Regions from separate parts of the Homo sapiens genome. Here region 2 is linked to region 1. Evidence: promoter capture Hi-C in human tissues and cell types (Jung and others, 2019). All regions are on one chromosome and are shown on one strand. Each heading gives the region's core, a stretch centred on a gene start or on the middle of the fragment in contact. The rest is flanking DNA. Distances are from core to core; before and after follow the strand shown.

The links. Contacts are between HindIII fragments. The study calls those that stand out against the background at their distance.
Region 2: a fragment that was not itself captured here is called in contact with the fragment with the promoter of SAMHD1 in region 1 in 1 of the 25 tissues and cell types used here (heart right ventricle).

The regions. Positions count from the first base shown.
Region 1 is chr20:36,950,183-36,953,097 of GRCh38, reverse strand. SAMHD1 (SAM and HD domain containing deoxynucleoside triphosphate triphosphohydrolase 1) reads left to right here and starts at 1,390. Exons shown (of 16, transcript NM_015474.4): 1 at 1,390-1,662. The coding sequence starts at 1,455. RefSeq lists a silencer at 1,676-1,895. The HindIII fragment of the contact is 37,170 bases long and covers 1-2,915 here.
Region 2 is chr20:38,175,336-38,178,201 of GRCh38, reverse strand. No RefSeq gene overlaps it. Among named protein-coding and RNA genes, the nearest start is that of TGM2, 11 kb to the right of the region's middle. The HindIII fragment of the contact is 5,193 bases long and covers 1-2,866 here.

The sequences.
Region 1 (2,915 bases), core at 141-2,640:
AGTTCAAGACCAGCCTGGCCAACATGGTGAAATCCTGTCTCTACTAAAAATACAAAAATTAGCCAGGTGTGGTGGCAGGCGCCTGTAGTCCCAGCTACTTGGGAGTCTGAGGCATGAGAATCACTTGAACCTGGGAGGCAGAGGTTGCAGTGAGCTGAGATCACGCCACTGCACTCCAGCTTGGGAAACAGAGCAAGACTCCGTCTCAAAAAAAAAAAAGAAGACCTGCGGCAAATTACTTTTTCCTACATCCTAAGGTAATTGTGATAATTAAGTGAAGTAATATGTGTAGAGCCCTTAGAACTTTACAATATTTGTAAAACCCTTAGAAGTTATAAAAATTATTTAATATTTAAATAATTTAATGAATGTACTTAATTCATTTAGTATTATGTATAAATATAAAATTATTTTATATTTGTAAAGCCCTTAGAACCGTGCCTGGCACACAGTAAAGCTCTGTTTGCAAATAATATTTTGGCTCACCAGTAGACCACTAGTTCATACTGCTTGATGATAAGCTATTCCGCCTCATTCGTCCTTGACCCCCTAAACAGGTCTATGCCTTGGTTGCTGGGAAGGTGTGTTGGCTTTATTAACAGTAATAGTGATATGTCCTTTTACCAGGCAATTGCATGGACCAGTATTTATAGGGAAGTTTGAGCCCTGCCGCAGAGGGGTTAAGTGATGGGAAAATGCCTGCCATTTTCACATGCTGTTACAACCAGGCAGTAAAAGTCCTCAGAAGTTAAATTTTAAGTAATCAGACTGGCCACTTTCCTTCCTCTGGGAATGCAGTTGGGATGGAGGGCTCTGTCTCTAGTTGGAAAGAAGTCTGAAGTCCCCTCCTGTGTGGACACCAGACAACAGGTATCCCAGGGCCCTCTAGTTGACCAGCAATACTGTGGAATGAAGACACCCTCAAGTCACATTTGAAATCATTCCGGGTTCTTCCAGTTCAGCACCTTGACTGTTTTCCTCTTCACTGGGAAGGTGCTGGCAGCCTGACGGCCTTTTAGGCTTCTTTTAAGTTTGGGGCATCTGAAACCCGGCCAAGGTGCGGCGGGTAGTGTACTCATTCGAAGGAGAATACCCCCAATTCACTAGACGAGCCCCTAATTGGGGGTGCGGTGCCGGGCGCGCTCTTTCCTCCCCCTTTCCACCAGCACTGCCCTCAGTTCTGCTTCTAGCCACGCCCTTTCGCGTTCACGTCCAGCGCCCTGGCGGGATTGATTTGAGGACGACTGGACTGCCATTGCGCCTGCGCAGGGAGCCCAAGGCAAGAGCCGCTAGGCTGCCCTGCCCGAAGGGCTCAACTGTCAGTGAGCCTGCGCAGGAGGCCAATAGGCTGCCAATACTCCTTGGACTCCCCGCCAGGGCCCTGCTGTCAGTGCGCCTGCGCGCGGGTCCGGCGCCGAGGTTCTTGACTGCTGTGCCGGACGCCAGGTGTAGCCATGCAGCGAGCCGATTCCGAGCAGCCCTCCAAGCGTCCCCGTTGCGATGACAGCCCGAGAACCCCCTCAAACACCCCTTCCGCAGAGGCAGACTGGTCCCCGGGCCTGGAACTCCATCCCGACTACAAGACATGGGGTCCGGAGCAGGTGTGCTCCTTCCTCAGGCGCGGTGGCTTTGAAGAGCCGGTGCTGCTGAAGAACATCCGAGGTAGCGGCTCCGGAGGGGCTGAGGGGCGAAGGGCGGCGACCTGGGGCGCGGGCCAGGCGCCCTGAGGGAGGGGGCCCCACGAGAGGACCGAGGCCGAGGAGCGAGCCCTGCGGCGGGAGGCACCCGGGAGGGCGGACCTGCGCTGGGGGCGCCGAGGAAAGGAAGACCCGAGGCGGGGGAGGGAGCCCTGCGGCGGGGGTTCCCAGGAGGGCCTGCGGCATGGGGCTCCCGGGACTGACTCCCCGAGGCGGAGGAAGAAGACATGGGGTCGCCTGGGATAGGCGATTCGTAGGATGGGAGCAGGCTCCCGGGATTGAGGACCTGGGAGGGGCAGTCGTAGATTGGGATCTCACTCTCGTGGGTTTCTTCACTAACTTGCCACCCCGGCGCGGGACAAGCGAGACTCGGGTCCCTTTTTTTTAGTTAGAAGGAGATTTTTCCCCAGACCTTGGTGGGCGGCTTGCTGTCATCCAGGCTCGCGGGACCCCTCCGCGCTAACCGCAGCTCCTTGAACACTTGCCACATCAGAGGATGTTCTGGGGCTTTTAGGTTTCGGTTTCCTCCCTGAATTGAGGCTTTTCCTGAAGGGGAAGGAACTGGCTTGGTTAATCTCTGAATTCCCATCACCTTCCTTGGCATCCCAGCAGCGCCCGATAGGCGTGTGTTGACTGCACTTGCAGAACATGGTAAGGAACATGTTTTGCTCTTTAAAAGCAGGTTCCCCTCCAAAATCTGAACCTTGGGGTTGTTCAGTTGACCACTGAATCCCCAGCATGCCACAGTTTGGCCACATCCCCTGGAGAAGTGTTTAGGTTGAGTTTTAATCATATTTTACTGATTCGTATCCAAGCATCCATCCTTGTGAATTCTACTCAACTTTTTGTGGTGGGTGTGAGATTTGACTCCTGCCTTATATCCTCTAGGTGTCCAATAGGAAGGTGATTCTTTGGTGGTTGGGATTTGCAAATTTAGTAAATTTTTGCATTTGTTAGGTGGGGCCCTGTTTGGCTAGGTTGGAAACTGGGGTAGGAGGAACATTAGTGGTTCAGGACCCAAAGATAGCTTGAATGGGTATGGGAAATTGCATTTCTCCTTTTTTTTTTTTCTTCCCCCTTTTGCCCTTTCGTTTCCCTCCACTGCTGGGATGGATTATTACTTTATTTTCTTTGACTAGCAACAAGTGGAGTGAAGTAGTTCCATATTTTCTGTCTCAAAATGTGGTTGGCTCTCTGTTTCAGTGGTTTGTAGATTAA
Region 2 (2,866 bases), core at 45-2,544, 1.2 Mb before region 1:
CAGTGCAAAAGTTCTAAACAGAGGACACGCCTGGCAAGCTGAAGGAATGGCAGGGAGGCCAGCGTGCCGGGGCCAAGTGAGCAGGGAGTGGTCAGAGAGAAAGTCCGAGAACAACGGGATCAGATGGTGGAGGTCTTGGGGACCTGATGAGAACTTTGGCTTTAATCAGAGTGAAGCAGGGGGTTACTGCAGGCTCTTGAGCAGAGGAGTGGCAGGAACTGACTTAAGTTTTAAAGAGATTCCTTTGGCTGTTGTGTGGAATACAGATTGGAAGTGGGGAGCAAGGGGGAAAACAGGGAGCCCTAGTCCAGGTGAAAGAAACTGGTGGTTTGCACCAGAATGATGGTGGCAGAGGCAGAGGTTGTGAGAAGTGGCCAGATTCTAGAGACATTTTAAAGGCAGGGCAACCAGGATTTCCTGACAAATTGAGGTGGGATCTGAGAGAGAGGAGTCAAGGCTGACCCTGGGGACTGAGCATAGGGAATGGTGGTGTTGCTTCCACCGAGATGGGGATACTGCGGGGGAGTGAATAGCGGGTGGGGCACAGCAGGAATTTTGAGGAGGCGATTGGAAACCTGGACCTGGGATTTAAGAGTGAGGACAGGACTGAAGATGCAAATGTGGGAGCCTTCAGCACATAGATGGCATTTAAAGTCAGGGCTGGTGAGTAGACTGAAGACGATGCATGTACATTTCAGGGCCCCTGCACTCAGTAAGCCCTTGGCAAATGATGGCCAAGCGGCCGTTGATGAGGCGGCTGTCGTCGAGACGTGATCCTGGGGTTAAGCTGTGAAGGATAAAAAAGCACAAGAAACAGTGTGCACAAAGGGGGTGTGAGCAGGGTCCTCCCACCTCCCAGCCCAGCCTCCGTCCTCTCCCACCTGGACAACAATACCACCCACCTCCTCCTGCTGCCCTTCTCATCCTTACTCCCTCCCTAGCTAATGCTGGTATTTTGCAAAAAGTGCGGGCTTGGCACCTGGGCAGATCTGGTCCTGGGCAAGTGCCTCACTTTCCCCATCTGTAGTCTGTGCCAGAGCATGGGACCAGGACCCACAGGGAAGGGATCAGATCCAGTATGAATCCACCCAGACAGATCACAGGGCCCACCCCAGCTCAAGAAGTTCCCCCAGTGACCAGAGGCATGCTCCTTGCTCTCCCTGACCCCTACTCTTTTTTTTTTTTTTTTGAGATGGAGTCTCGTTCTGTTGCCCAGACTGGAGTGCAGTAGTGCAGTCTCGGCTCACTGCAAGCTCCACCTCCCGGGTTCATGCCATTCTCCTGCCTCAGCCTCCCGAGTAGCTGAGACCACAGGCATCCGCCACCATACTCGGCTAATTTTTTGTATTTTTGGTAGAGGTGGAATTTCACCGTGTTAGCCAGGATGGTCTTGATCTCCTGAGCTCGTGATCTGCCCGCCTCGGCCTCCCAAAGTGCTGGGATTACAGGTGTGAGCCACCGCACCCGGCCTCTGACCCCTACTCTTTACATCTGGAAGTTGGGTGATGGAGCCATTCATCATCTAGACATAGAACTACCTGAGAGAAGGATTAACTTACGGTCCTTGTGTGGCCAGATGCGGCTGAGAACAAACAAACAATCAAAAGGCAATCACAGCCAGGCGCTGTGGCTCACGTCTGTAATCCTAGCACTTTGGGAGGCCAAGGCGGGCAGATCACCTGAGGTCAGGAGTTCGAACCCAGCCTGGCCAACATGGTGAAACCCCATCTCTATGAAAAATACAAAAATTAGCCGGGCATGGTGGCTCATGCCTGTAATCTCAGCTACTCAGGAGGCTGAGGCAGGAGAATTGCTTGAATCCAGGAGGTGGAGGTTGCAGTGAGCTGAGATCAAGCCACTGCACTCCAGCCTGGGCGATAGAGCAAAAGTCTCCATCTCAAAAAAAAAAAAAAAAGAAAAGAAAAGAAAAAAAAAGGAGGTGGAGGGCAATCACATGCATAAAGCTTCTTCACACAGAGCCTGGCACACAGGAGGTGAACAATGACCATGCTCTCTCACCTACCCTCAGAGCTGACTTGCAGGGGGGCAGTTGGAATCGAGGTCCTCAAAGCCCATAGAAGTAATTATAAGAGTACTAAAAACAGTCAACATCTGCAGCTTTTCCCTGCGCCAAACACTAAACCCTGCAATAACTCATTTATTCTTAACTACTCTGTGAGCTTGGTCCTCTCGTTACCCCCATTATCAGGGTGTGGAAACTGAGGTCAGAGACATGAAGAAATTTGCAGTAGGTTGTACAGCTAGGAGCTGTCGGGCCTTGAAACCCTCAGTCATTCTGCCTCTGAGCTTCCTGATGGGCCTGGGTACTGTCCTGTGAGCCGTGGGAAGGGAGGTGACCTGGGAAGCAGGTGAGTCCGGCTCATAGGTGAGGCCCCCGTCGCTTCCTTCCTCCTACCTCTCTGTGCCCACAGCTGGCTGCCGCTTAGGAAACCATAGGGTTAATCTAATTGGAGGTTCCAGGATCGTGCATGCACAGGGTGATTTATTTTATTTTAAAAAGCTTAAAAAAGAAACCACCCTGTCAAGTCTTGTTTAGAAAACTGGACATTCTGAAAATATTGGTGAAGAGAGGGGGCTGCACCCCTTAGAAGATTCTCAGCAGAGGGGGTGATGTTAATCCAAGGTGACAGGGGCTTTTTCTTTTCTTTTCGTTTTTTAGGCCAGAAAGGCAGGAAGTGCAAATTGCTCTTCTAGGGGTCAACCAGCCCTGGGCACAAGCTCAGGAGGCCGCCTGTGGGAACTGATTGGGGAGTAAGTGCTGGGCTCCCCCTCCCCCTCCCCCACCAGCTCCTTTTTGCTGGAATTCTTCATCCGAAAAGAAGGCCCTGATGACTCCACTTTCACA